5 separate regions of the Homo sapiens genome follow, and all the other regions are linked to region 1. Evidence: promoter capture Hi-C in 16 types of primary human blood cells and fetal thymus (Javierre and others, 2016). All regions are on one chromosome and are shown on one strand. The core of a region is centred on a gene start or on the middle of the fragment in contact, and the rest is flanking DNA. Distances in the headings are between cores, read along the strand shown.

Evidence for each region. Contacts are between HindIII fragments. The CHiCAGO score rates a contact against its expected background, and 5 or more counts as called.
Region 2: a contact is called between a fragment that was not itself captured here and the fragment with the promoter of CIMIP4 in region 1, in 4 of 17 cell types (M0 macrophages, endothelial precursors, M1 macrophages and 1 more). The highest score is 6.1, in M0 macrophages.
Region 3: a fragment that was not itself captured here is called in contact with the fragment with the promoter of CIMIP4 in region 1 in 9 of 17 cell types (M1 macrophages, M0 macrophages, megakaryocytes and 6 more); the score reaches 14.6 in M1 macrophages.
Region 4: a contact is called between the fragment with the promoter of SSTR3 here and the fragment with the promoter of CIMIP4 in region 1, in 10 of 17 cell types (neutrophils, M1 macrophages, M2 macrophages and 7 more). The highest score is 12.3, in neutrophils.
Region 5: a contact is called between a fragment that was not itself captured here and the fragment with the promoter of CIMIP4 in region 1, in 2 of 17 cell types (M2 macrophages and endothelial precursors). The highest score is 5.4, in M2 macrophages.

The regions. Positions count from the first base shown.
Region 1 is chr22:37,006,477-37,009,155 of GRCh38, reverse strand. It overlaps CIMIP4 (ciliary microtubule inner protein 4), which reads left to right and starts at 1,305. Exons shown (of 6, transcript NM_001163857.2): 1 at 1,305-1,427. The HindIII fragment of the contact is 2,868 bases long and covers 209-2,679 here.
Region 2 is chr22:36,769,790-36,772,468 of GRCh38, reverse strand. All of the region lies in intron 1 of IFT27 (intraflagellar transport 27), which reads left to right. Among named protein-coding and RNA genes, the nearest start is that of IFT27, 5.0 kb to the left of the region's middle. The HindIII fragment of the contact is 1,007 bases long and covers 849-1,855 here.
Region 3 is chr22:36,786,069-36,788,747 of GRCh38, reverse strand. No RefSeq gene overlaps it. Among named protein-coding and RNA genes, the nearest start is that of IFT27, 11 kb to the right of the region's middle. The HindIII fragment of the contact is 226 bases long and covers 1,227-1,452 here.
Region 4 is chr22:37,211,109-37,213,787 of GRCh38, reverse strand. It overlaps SSTR3 (somatostatin receptor 3), which reads left to right and starts at 1,311. Exons shown (of 2, transcript NM_001051.5): 1 at 1,311-1,963. RefSeq lists an enhancer at 1,493-2,472. The HindIII fragment of the contact is 10,151 bases long and covers 1-1,669 here.
Region 5 is chr22:37,188,652-37,191,330 of GRCh38, reverse strand. It overlaps a transcript of C1QTNF6 not described here. Among named protein-coding and RNA genes, the nearest start is that of C1QTNF6, 1.7 kb to the right of the region's middle. RefSeq lists enhancers at 1,441-2,074, 2,075-2,679. The HindIII fragment of the contact is 508 bases long and covers 1,087-1,594 here.

The DNA.
Region 1 (2,679 bases), core at 56-2,555:
CAGTCTAACAGACTGCAAGGAACTGAATCCTCCCACAGCCACATGAGCTTGGAAGCATATTCTTCCCTAGTGGAACCTCAGATGAGACTGCAGCCCTGGCCAATACTTGGATTGTAGCCTGCTAAGACCCCAATGCAGAGAACTCAGCTAAGCCATGAGTAGACACCCGACCCAAAGAAACTGTGAGATAACAGTTGTATGTTAAGCTTCGAAGTTTATGGCAAGATTGTCGTGCAGCAATAGATAATACTTAGGCAAGAGATGAGGGTGGCTTGGACCAGGGAGTAGGGGGAGTTGTGGAGGTGGACGAAGGCATCCAAATCTAGTGTACTTCGAAGGACTTGCTGATGGGTTGCTTGCGGAAGTAGCTTAGAGTTTTGTGATGTCTCTCTCTGTGCAAGGCAATGTGCTACATTTTGCAAAAAATTGTTTTATTCGCCCATCACCCTTATCCTTAGTGTTGGGTGATATCTGTTTCACATGTGAAGGAAGTTCAGCTAAAGGACTTGGCCAGTCTCTTATCTAATAAGTGACAGGCCCAGATTCTGGGGACTCCAAGTTTAACCACAGCACTCTCTGTTTCCTGGGGAAATCCTGAAAGGCTGGGCTTGCAGGAGGCGTTCACTATACCCACTCTTTGTCCAGGCTGAGCAACAGCCAGACAGGAATGGGCCAGTGCTGGCACCAATGACTTCTGCCTCCTTCTTCTCTGCAGAAAAGAAGTCACTTAATTTTGTTGATCTCCTTCTGTAGCCCTTGTTGTTTAGGAATAGGAGAGAGGACCCTTCCTTTAGTTTTACTCCCAGGTCCCTGATCCCTGGGTGTCCAAATCAGACAGCTCCAGATGCATCTTTCTCCTTCCCCATTGACCTCGACCTACATTTATGCTGTTATACACATCCATGCCTTTAATATTCTCATCCCTTCAAAACTGTTAAGTTCCTAGGCATCCTTCAAGATCCAACTCAAATGGCTCTTTCATAAGTCCTTCCTCCTTTTTCCTACACAGAGCTAGTTCTTCTCCCTACTTAGTGCTTTGAGCTCCCAAGAACATCTTTTGCACTTGGTAGCATCTGAGCCCCCTGTGCCTGGCACACCTGGCATGTAGTGGGGGCTCAACTGACATTCTAGAGTGGATGAGAGAGTGAACAATAATTGAAGCCCCTCCTGCCTTTTCCTGGCCTCAATCCTGGCTTTCTCCTGGCCTCTTTTCCCTACGGGTGGGCCTATCAGCCCTCTGAGGTAACAGAGCCCTGTGTATAGTGATCACCATGGCAACTCCAATGAACATCTTGGGGAGGGCCACTTCCCAGCAACCATCCATTGGTCTTCACCAGTAGTTCTGCAGTGGGGATCTGCACTTCTGGGCTTCAGCACACATCAGTGTGGTTCACGTGTTTCCTGCTGTTATGAAAGAGATTGGAGAGGTGAGGCAGAGACTTATGAAGGGCCAGGGTTCTTCCAGGACATGGGGTTTCATCTTCCTTCTCCCCATTCAGAGTTGCTTGTGAGTGAAGACTGCCTAGACTGGACTTACCTTCCCGCCCTCTTTGACCAAAGTCTCTTGGGATCTCTCTCTCTGGGTCAGAAACTGGAAGTGAGTCCACACTTCCATTGTAGCCCGTCCAGACTGCTGTGGACTGGCAGTGCACTGGGACGTACAGAGCTGCCGTGGGCACGTCAGGTTGGTGGCTGGGGATAGGAGGAGAAAGAAAACTTGGAGCTAACTTGAACTTCACCTAGCTTGAAGATGTGCAATTTAATTTTAGCCCCACCTGGTGAAGTCCTGTGTCTTTTCGGAGCCTCATTTTCTCCATCTGTGAAAGAAGATAAATTAGTAGTGTCTCCGAACACCTTACTGGGTATTTGTGAAGACCAGACTAATTTACCAGATGTGAGAATGCTTGACATGGACTTGTGTTAGTTATCTCTTGCTGCACAACAAATCACCCCAAAACTTAGTGGGCTTAAGACAACATTTACTATCTCACAGTTTCTGTGAGTTGGGAATACCGGTGGAGTGTTGGTGATTTTTCTGTCCCAGGGTCTCTCACAGGCTGCAATCAAGGTGTTGCTTGGGTCTCTAGTCTCATCTCAAAGCTCGACCAGAGAAGGAACCCATTCACATGGCAGGATCCAGCTACTCTGGAGCTGTTGGCAAGAGGCCACTCTGAGTTCCTTGCCCTGTGGACCTCTCCATAGGGCATCTCACAACAGGGAAACTGGCTTCTGTCAGAGAAGATGAGCTGAGGAGAGCTGCAGAGAGTGTGTGAAAAAGACAGAAGTTGTAGTCTCTTATAAGTTCATCATGGATGCAACATCCCTCATTTTTGCCACATTCCATTCATCACTATGTCCAGTCCACACCAAAGGGGAGAGAATTATACCAAGAAACAGGGATCATTGGGAGCCATGTCAACTGCCTGCCACTCTCTGCCCTCTGGCCCCCAATAATGTACATCCCTTCCACATGCAAAATATAGTCATCCCCTCCTAAGATCTTTAAAATTCTCATCCTATTAAAGCATCAGTTTAAAAGCTAGAATCTGGTCATATAAATCAGCTCCAGGTGTGGCTGAGGCTCCTCCAGTGTCGTTCCTTAAGTACAGCTTCTCAGATTCAATTCTTCCCCATCATAGATCTGTGAAACTAAGTAATTTGCCCTGAACACACCTAACA
Region 2 (2,679 bases), core at 103-2,602, 240 kb after region 1:
ACTTAAATAGTACTTATATATGCCAGGCACTGTGCATATTAACTCATTAAATCCTCATAACAATTCTGTGGGGTAGGTGCTATGATTATCTTAGGTTATACATGTTGCAGCTGAGGCACAGAGAGGTTAAGTAACTGATTTAAACTCACACAGCTAGAAAGTGATGGAGCTGGAGTCTGGCTCCAGAGTCTGTGCCCTTAAGTACCATAATATGCTGCCTCTTGATATACATGGAGATGGTAATAGAGCCTCCTGGGAGGGTTGCTCTGACATCACATCGTGCGCTACCACTGAGCAACGATCCACGTTAGCCACACAGATAAAGATGAAGGAGGGAGAGATGGCCTTCAGAGGCTGTGCAGGAAGGGTATTCTTTGAGCTTTCCTTGCAGAGAATGGACAGGATTTGAATTTGGTCTAGGGGTACCTGGAAGGAGGTGGCCTTGAGGAATTTCCAGGGACTGGGCGAACAGGAATGCAGAGCCCAGATTTGGGGTAAGGGATTACTAGGGAGAGAGTGGGAAGGTGGGTTAGGGCTGACCGTGGAGATGGGTAGGCTATGAAGGAATCCTCAGTGGGGTTTGTGTGAAGGTTTGCCAAGATGGAGGCACTGTGTCATGGGGGTCCACCTGTTGATGCCACCCACTGGGTGGATAACAGCCGGGAGAAAAAAGAAGAGAAAAGAAGTGTTCAAGGCACAGTCGGGAAGACAGAAAACGCAGTCGTCATTTCAGCAGAGAAATTTTAATGTATGGAATTGCTTCATCAAGTGTTGGAGAACTGAGGAAGCAAGAAGGCAGCATTGAGTTGACACAGATTGGCGGGCAGAGGTCGGGGTTGTCAGAAGCTTGAAGAGACCCAGGGAGCTGGGATCCGGACCCCTGAGGAAGGGGCCCTGCCCGGCTGGTCCCGGCACCTCAGGAGTTCAGTCACCTGCCGCGTGACCCCAGCACATGCCACAGAGCACCAGGACCCATTTCCCACTGGGAGGAGCCCAGCCCTGTGTTCAGGGCAAGACACACCAAACCAGTTCCAAACCATCCTGGAGGGTCCATGTTTTAAGACCACTCCTGGTACCAAGGACTACATAAGTCAGGGGCCAGGCAAAAACCAGCAACTCTACTCGGCATTTCAACAGTGAGGATTTCAGTAGGATGTGAATGACACTGGTGCTAGAGGACTGGAAGAGGAAAAGGGGGAAACTGAGGCAGCACGGGTAGTAACTGCAGGAAGGAGCACCACCTCTTGGGCTGGGGAAGCAGAGGGAAGCATGTGGGGCTCTCAGCCCAGAAGCAGGGAGGAGGGGCCCTGGGAGCCAAGGTGTGGATCTCTGAGAAGAGGGCACTGCCCGCTGGCGCTGTTTCCTCTGGGGGCAACAATAAGCTGGTCTGGGAGTAGGGAAACACACACACACACACACACCCCAAGACAGGAAGCAGTTAGTGCTGCTGGGGTGCAGGCCATTGCTAGGGTAGTACTAAGAAAAAGGAGAAGCAGGCGGGAAGAGCAGTGTCCTCTCCCCCGACTCCAGCCTTCCCTTCTTCTTCCAGAACTCCCATTGGCAGAGCCTAACAGGAAGCTCCTAGCAAGGGAGAAATGTGTCTGCAGAGGCCCCTCCCCTGCACACTGTGGAAGGATGGGCTTGGGGCTGAGATAGAAACCCAGCAGTGAGGCTGAGCTAACTGGGGCAGGGTCAGCAGGGAGGGCCGAGCAGAGGTGGGCTGAGACTCAGCCAAGGATGTGAGGAATGCAAGGGAGGCTGCCTGAAGATGGGAGGAAGGAGGAGGAGCAGTCAGAGGTGACCCGTTGAATCTGGGGACGATGAAAACACACGGTGGCGTCACAAACAGAAAGCTTGGGTGATGGGGGCAGCCCACTCAGGACCAGGGCATGACGGAGCTTGGCTGTAGACAGACTGAGGTTGGAGGAAGGTCCTTCATTCTAGTGGCAACGCACACGGGTTTTTGGATATACAGACAAAGCTTGGGAGGGAGATCCTGCCTTCTGTCAAGGTGATGAGAGTCAGTGGGACGGAGTGGACTAGGAGCAGAGCGCCGCCGATGACAGGCCCATGGGAATGCCCACACTCGGGGGGCAGAGGGGCAGGCAGATAGCAGGAGAACCAGGCCAGGGCAGGGTCACTGAGGCCACGGGGACAGGACTCGGGAAGGAAGGGGTCACTTCAGGCTGACTCACATCCTTCAGAGAAGTCAAGGAGGATGAGAACCAAGAAAAGGCCATCGGCCTTGGCAACTGTGAGGTCACAGGTGATCTCGCATCGTGCCCTTGCAGACGTCATCCTCTCTGTCCTGCAGCGCCCTGCCTGCTGTCGCCCCCAGGCCCAGCCCTTGCCCCTAGGGAAGCCTCCCTCCCCAGTGAATCCTCTCATTCATTTCTTTTCTCGATGCTTCCCAGACGCCTTGCTTCTCAGTTTGTGCTATTTGAATTTGCACTTGTCATCCTGTTGCTCTGCAAATGTGTTTATCAGTTATTTCACCTCCCTGTGCTTCTGAGCCCTCATAGCCAACACAGGCGGTTTCCTGTAAGTGTTGGTGACTCTGACTGACAGTCAGAGGAAAGATTTATGAAATTAACCAGAACAAATCTGTGAGGAATCTCATAAGCAGGAGGAGCCAACTTCCAGCTGAATTCAGGAGCAGAGCTGAAGTTGGGAGGGCGG
Region 3 (2,679 bases), core at 90-2,589, 220 kb after region 1:
GGCAACAAGAGCAAAACTCCATCTCAAAAAAAAAAAAAAAGAAACAAACAAAGAAAGAAAACAAAGAAAGAGAAAGAAAAAGAAAGAGAAAGAAAAAAAGAAAGAAAGAAAGAAAGAAAGAAAGAAAGAAAGAAAGAAAGAAAGAAAGAAAGAAAGAAAGAAAGAAAAAAGGAAGGAAGCAAGGAAGGAAGGGCCCTTCCAGACACATGAGTAGCAAACTGTAATAGTAATCGCCTCCTGCCTTGAGCACTTCCTCCGTTGAGTATACTTTCCATCCAAGCCTGGGTGATGGATCTCATATCCCAGATACCGGGGGGCCTGCACCCCCATCCCCCTTGCCCTGAAGACCTAAGCCTCTTGTCCAAGGGCTGTGGGAGCCCACTCAGCCCCTGCACAGGCCGAGGCAGAAGCGCCCGAGAGCAGTGCCCTGTGCAGCCCTCAACCAACACAGAACAGTGAGCTGGATCAGAACACACCAGCTTCCTCCCCTCTGCCAGGATGATCTGAGGTCAGCTCCAGGCAGTCTCCCAGAGCCCGGCAGGCCTGAGCCTCTGTAGACCACAGGTGGTGGTGGTGGGCTCATTAGTTCCCCCTTCTGCCTTCCTCCTTCTCCCTCTCTCACTTGTCCACTCCCCTGGAGGTGCTTTGGGAATCACTTTACAATAAACCACTTGTACTCTAGTCCTTGCTGTGGATTGGCTCCTGGGGAAGCCCCACCAAGCCAGTGTTGGAGTTGGGGATTGTATGTGGTTTATCTAATCCTGGAGCCCGAGCTAAACTGGTCTATCCTGTGGGGTTATTTGCACCACAGTCCCGATGCGTGTCCAGTATTCAGGAACACAAACTAGAAAGCAGCCAGCTCTCCACAGCCCAGAGCAAATGTGGCAGGGAAGCAGTCGCTGCAGGACCAGTCCCTTGAACATCGTGCTGTGGAAACAGAGTGTGCTCTGATGCTCTCTGTATTCACCAGAGAGCCTGCGGGGCCGCCTGGGATGCACTCCAGCAAGAAGCCTGCGCCCTGCTCTTACCACCCCAGCTTCTCCAGGTCTTGGGCCACTTGTCACCCTCTCCTGTAGCGCTCACATCTGTTAACTCTCGAGGGGCGAAGAGAGGGCAATGGGCAGAGTGTTTCAGAGACAATTCTGGGATGCCTGCAAAGCTCACTGGGTGAGCCAGCGCCAGATGAGAAATTGCTATGCTCCGGCAGTTTTGCAAAATTCAAAGCTTTTTGCTGGAGCAGAGGGTCAGTTCTTGGAAGGTTTCTTGCATAATCATCCAAAACGTCACCTTGTCAGCATCACCAGAGAGACCATGTCGGATGATCTGGGGCCAGCCCTTTCTCTGCATTTGGAAAGATCTTCAAGAATGTGAATCACAGAGGAAGCGAGGCCCAACTTTATTGCCATCAAAAGGAAATTGCCTACACTTCATGGGCTTCTTGCAAAGAAAGCTTCCAGTCCCTGGTAGAGAAAAGAGTGCATTTATTTATTCATCCACTCCTCTATTTATTTAACAACTGTGTGCCCTAAAGTAGTAATAACCGGGGGCATTCACCCAGTGTTTACTCTTCGGCTGGGCCAAGTGGTTTCCATGTAAGAATCCCATGTAACCCTCACAGCTCTCAGAGGTAGGTCTCATCATCAGCCCCACTTTACAGATAAGGAAACAGAGGCTCAGAGAAGTTCACGAGCTCTCCCAAGATCACCCAGCCAGTAAGCCAGGGGGTTCAGGTTTGGAGAGAGAAGATTTCAATTCTCGTCTCAGTCCTTCTTCTTATTAGCTATTTCGTGTCCACGTGTCATTTGATGCATTTAGCTGAGCCTCAGTTTCCTCCTCTGGAAAATGGACGGAGCCCAGGTAAGAGTTACCAGACCAGGTGAAGTCCAGCAGTCGGGGAGTATATTACACAATTCAGAGCCCACTCTCCAGCTCGGCATATCCCAAAACTGTGTTTTCCCAACAAAGATTAAGTCGGTAGGATGTTCAAAATCTTTCCCAGCAAGCCAGATGGGGATACTGAGAGTAGGCCACAGACATGTTTTTTGCTCAGACTTTAAACTCAGATCTGTTGGCTTAAATGTCTGCCCTCCTGTCCCTCTACCGGGTGCTCGCATCACTGGGCACACCACCCTCGGGTGGGAGAAGTTGAAAGGGTCTGGGTTGCTTTGCATCTCATCAGCTTCCTCTTTGACAGTGGGATGCCTCCTGCCAAAACAATCACGCCTGTTTACAGCTCTAAGAGGCTCGGGAGGCAGCCTGGAGTCCTGCCCCACTGGCCCAGTCGGATAATGCTCTTCTCTCAGCCAGCCTGCGTTTCCCCTGCAGTTCCATTGGAGAAAGGCCCCCCAGCTTTATAGCCTGAACATCTAACGGATATTTTCACAACCCGTTAGGCGGCTTCTGAATTTCAGCTCCCAGATGCCGCATATGGGTGCTGACGACTTGTGCCAAAAATATTTGGAGGAGAGGATGAGGGAACCAACCTCTGAACGGAGCTGATCATGGTAACAGTGACAGCCGTTACCTTTGTCCAGCATTTCACAGTTTGCAAAGCACGCTTAGGCACTACGTGGTGTCAGTTTTGACCCTCGTGGTAACTCTTTAAAGAAGAGGGAGGTTACAGGTATTATTGTCCCAAGCCCAGCCATATCAAGTGGACTGCTGTCTGTCAAGTGACAG
Region 4 (2,679 bases), core at 62-2,561, 200 kb before region 1:
GCGAGAGAGCTTTATTCTGAGGGCAGTGAGAAGCCGTGGGTAGGGGTGGGTGGTCAGTGCCATGGAAAACCCACCCTTGACCCTGAGGACACGCTCCCAGGAGCCCACCCACACCTCATGAACTTGTACGGACAAGGACAATGGGAGGCTGAGACCTGGAGCAAGGGCCTTGTCCCGGGCACAAGGCAAAGGGACGGGCAGCGTTAAGAGACCAGGCCGGCTCCGGCTGGAAGTGGGTGTGTCCTACTGTGTGCTGCCGCATGCATGGTGGCACCTCTGGATGCATTCAACTTCCAGTTCTCTGCAGTGCCAGGTACCTAGTGACAAAGGAGGTCCAGCCCTGGTCCCAGGGAATGGCCCAGTTTGGAAAGCAGCCTAGGTACAGCCTGGCACATAGTAGGTGCTCAGCCAAGACGTGTGTCCTTTTCCCTTCCGTCTCTGACTGTTCCTTTCCTTATCACTCCTGTGCTGAGGCAGGAATCAGCACAGGCAGGGGCACGGCATCCCAAGACATCTGGGCCTGTGCTCAGGACTGTACGGCAGAGTCTCTTAGACCAAAGATCAGTAAATATGGCCCACGGGGCAAATCCCACCCACTGCCTGTTTTTGTACAGCCTAGGAGCTGAGAATGGTTTTTACGGATGAACATTTGCAATCGGTTTGATGAAACACTAACTCTAAACTCCAATTAAGCAAAAGGTGATGTCTGTAAAAAGAACTCTATTCTTCTCATGAGTGGACCTACATTACAAAATACTGGCCTCAATTATTATTATTCTATTTTGAGTTTTGTCAGTTACAAAATAGTAAAAATCTGTTTTCTCACTGCACAATGATTTTGCCCTCAAAGCCTAAAATATTGGTTCTCTGTTCTGTCCTTCCACTCCTCACCCTGCCTGGGGCTCTCCAGATGTAACCAATCCCAGGACTAATGACCCCCACCCGGCCTCCCCAGTGGTCCGTGCTGCGGCCGGTGTGCCCGACTGCAGGGCTGGACTGTGGACTCCCGGGCTGGCCAGCCCCACACCCAGCCTTGCCTTGGGACACAGCTGCTGCCCCGGGGGACCTGTGCCGCAGTGGCCTCACGAGCTGCTCTGGCTACTGGCTGGCAGCCTCGGCTCCCCTGAGCACTGAGCACATTCTTCTCTCCAACTCCCTGCAGGAGCCAAGGCCAGCGGGCGTGGGTGGCTGAAATCTCCCCGGTAACAGGGTCTGCGCCCCTCCTGCTCCCTCTCCGGGCCTCCTCCCTTAACCTGCACCCCGCCCCCACCCCCCACACCTGCTCTCCGGCCCTCAGCCCCTCCCTGCTTACTCCCTCCTTCACGGGCTCCATGTCACCATCTGTGGCACAGTCCCTCTCTGTCACTCTCCCTGCCACCCCCTCATTCTCCTTCCTCCCTCCTGCCTCTCTCTGCATCTCTCCCTCTCACCCGTGTCTCCTCTCCTCTCTTTCCTTCTCGTCTTCTCCCTGTCACGCATCTCTCATCACTCCCCCTCATTCTGCCTTTCCTCCTACTCACGGTCTCCTCTCCCTCTCCCTCTCTCTCTCTCCCCCTCCCTCTTTCTCTCTCTCTCTCTTTCTCCACCTCCTCCCGACCCCCTTTCCCCTCTATTTCTATTGGCTTCTGTGTCCCTTGCTCCCCTCTTCTCTTCCTCACCCTGGGAAGCTTCTCCCCCCTATCCTTGCCCCTGCCCCCCCAGGATGTGTCCTGGAGATGGGGGGTGACGTACCAGGCTCTGGTTGGGAAGTCAGGGCCGGAGACCAGATGGGAGAGGCTCTGTGGACAGCCGTGGCCGAGGGCCTGGGAGGGAACCTGAGCCCGCAAGCGGTCTAGAAGTGGGTGCCTTGTGGGGACCCTAGTTAGGAGTGCCCTGGGGGCACCTGGGGACTGGGCAGGGAGAGGGGACAGCAGAATGATAACCAGCCTGGCGGCAAGGAGGGAAGCCCTCACCCCATGGGCAGGTAAGGAGGCTGGGGCCCGGATGATGTCCCGAAGGGTGGGGTCCTGGAAGCCCATCCTCTGCCCAGGATGAACTTGGGAGGCTGGGGCTGGGGAGGCAGAGGGTGGGGACTCCCAGGGAGGCAGGAGGGAGGCCTTCCTGTGACCTCCCGGTCGGCTGCAGGGGCAGGGGCGTTAGTCTCAGAATCTCGTGCCATGATTCTAGGATCTCGGAATCACAGAATCGCAGGCTGTCAGGGCTGGAGGGAGCCAGATGTATCATGTCGTTGGCTTCCCCAGCTCACGTGGCAGCTCTCCTGAGCTCCCCCTCCATACCCGGCACTGTGCTTGGCACGCCTCCGTTTAATCTCTGCAAACAACCCTGGGAGGTGGGTCCGCTTGTCTTCCATATGACGAAACTGAGGTGCAGCGGGGAGAAGTGACTTGCCCGAGGTCACACAGCAATTTGGCATCATCGCTGTGCAGCAGAGCCCAAGCCCCCAGCGCTGGGCCTGTAGGGTGTGCTCCTGGGATCAGGCCCCAGGCCTGGGGTGCCAGTGAGTCAGTCGGCACTGGCAAGCATAAGCCAGGTGTCTTTGGGGGGAAGGCCGAAGCATGTAGAGGACAAGCAGAGAGCCAGGGGCCATCGCCCTGCACTATTCAGGACTGTCATGGCCTTTGATCCTTCTCAGCCTGAGGCCTTCAGAGGAGCCAGTGTGGCCAGGAGGTACTGATGGTT
Region 5 (2,679 bases), core at 91-2,590, 180 kb before region 1:
TATAATTCTGATATGAACATTATCAATACTAATGGACATTATCAATAATAATTATAATTGTTATGATGTTAATTTATTATATGCCACAGAGGTATCCACATTTCCTAGTCAATGATATTAATTCTTTAACCATGACTGCTCTAAGTCTTTCTGTCATCCATAGACAATTGTTGTCTTGCTTTTATTCTCTTCAAAAGGTGGTTTATAATCAGCTATAGGACTCTGATGAGTACTCTTAAATGCAGAGAAAAAGAAAACATCATCCAAGACTCTTGGAAAACTAACACATATATATCAAGCAAAACAGGAATTAATTGCATAGACTGAACTAATAAAAGACTGAAATAATCTTTTATGACTTTTTGCTTAAAATGTTGTTGATCTTTCTGTTTTGTTTTTCAGAGTCAAGAAACCCCCCCTTCTTGAGCTATTTACAGCTTTTAACAATTGAGTAAAGTACGCTCCGGTAAGGATTATAAAACAAAGTTTTGTCCAAAAACAAAATTTGGAATATGTTTTTTTCTCTTTACCTGATTTCTGCAGAATTTGGAAACTATTTGTGAGTGTTCTTAACTTACGGCAATATAGTTATTTGCATAAGTGCAGTAAGAATCTGTTTTTCCTTCTTTCTTCTTTTTTTTTTTTTGTAACAGGACACAATTGGAGAAACTGGTTATTTAACAAGGGTTTGACTCGAGTGGCATGCTTTCAAATATAAACAGACTTCTTTAAGGAATTAAAGTTGACTAATAGAGCCAATAAAAGCCTCTTGGAAAAACTGGTCTTGTACCTTGTGTATGAAGTCCCTGTATAGGGTTCCTGACCTGTGGTAAGTAAAGAATGTAACTTTCTGACAGGCCTGGGAGCCCCGAGTTATCTCGGGACCTCAAGAGGAGAGGAATTTATCTAACTCATACAGGTTCTTGCAGGCATAGGTAAATCCATGGCTGGGCTCAAAGCTTTAAAACATCTAATCTAAGATACCTTATGAAACAAAGCCAATTTTAAAAGGAGCCTGTATGGCAAATAATTATACTTGCTGCACTTTATGCAAATAATGAAGCCAAGTATAATAAGACTAAAGCTTATTTTGCAAATAAATTGGTCCTACCATGATTTGTTTTTAATAAAAAATGGGAGACTGGAGAGAGAAAAACGGTGTTTCAAAAAATATGGTACACCTGTCATAGATTCTAGTCTCATCCATTGTTTTTGAGTTTTTTGTCTGCAATTTAGACTGACCTTGCTTCTTTCTGTGAACCAAACAGTCATCTCTTGACTGCTTCTCGTCAGAAACAAGAGGGATGGATAACATAAAAATCTGGATCAGTATCTAATTCTGAGCATGTATTGGAATCGTCTAGCAACTCCGTATCAGCTCATCTAGCAATTCCTGTGACTAAGAATGCCTAACCTCCTGGGAATGCAGCCCAGTAGGTCTCAGCCTCATTTTACCCGATAAGTCACAGGCATTCTTGCCCAGTTCATGGAAAGCCTTCTTATTTGGATTACTTGGGATAATTTTACTTATTTTACTTTGCTGTTGTAGAATATATTGCTGCTATACTCTTTGTGTAAGAATGCAAGATAAGCTTACTCAGTGCTTCCTTAAATTGAACACATTAATCTTCCAGATATCACCTTTTGTTAGGACTCAGAGTTACAAATGACTCTGAACACACCAACATTTTCTTACTCAGTTCCTCTCTGCACCAAACCCAAGAGACTCTAATAGTTAGGCAGGAATATCATCGCCTCTATTCAGCCTGAAGAAGTTACAGAAGATGGATCTTCATGCCTCTACAACCCTTAAGATTAAACGTTCCCTCGTAAAAGAGAGTAGGGAAATATGTCAGAGGTGTTCAAAATAGGGCAACTCCATCTTGAATAGGGGCTGGGTAAAATGAGGCTAAGACCTGCCAGGCTGCATTCCCAGGAGGTCAGGCATTTGTAGTCACAGGAAGGGATAGGAAGTTGGCAGGACTGGTATCACAAGATACAGGTCATCAAGACCCTGCTGAGAAACAGTATGCGGTAAACAAACCAGCCAAAACCTGCCAAATCTAAGATTGCAATGAAAGTGACATCTGGTCATCCTTATTGCTCATTGTATGTTAATTAAAATGTGTTAGCTTGCTAAAACACACTTCTACCAGCACCAAGACAGCCTACAAATACCATGGCAATGTCCGGAAATTACCCTATATTGTCTAAAAGGGGGAGGAAGCCTCAGTTTCAGGAAATTCCCACCCCTTTCCTGGAAAACTCATGAATAATCCACCCCTGTTTAGCATAGGATCAAGAAATAACTATAAAAATAGCCAACTAGCAGTGCTTGGGGGTGCTCTGCCTATGGAGTAGCCATTCTTTTGTTTCTTTGCTTCTCTAATAAACTTGCTTTCACTTTGCTCTGTGGACTTACCCCAAATTCTTTCTGGTGCAAGATCCAAGAATTCTCTCTTGGGGTCTGATCAGTACCCCTCTCTGGTAACACTTGCATGATACCTGAGGAGGTCAGCCTGGTCATTCACCCAACAAACATGGGTTAAGCCCTCCCATGTGCCTGGCACAAAGGGGGCTGAGGACTGCAGTTCTGGAACACCTAGGCTCTGAGAGGCGACGCGACTGTGGTAGCAGGGCCAGGATTCTAGCCTGTGCCTGGAGGGCCAACACCTGCAC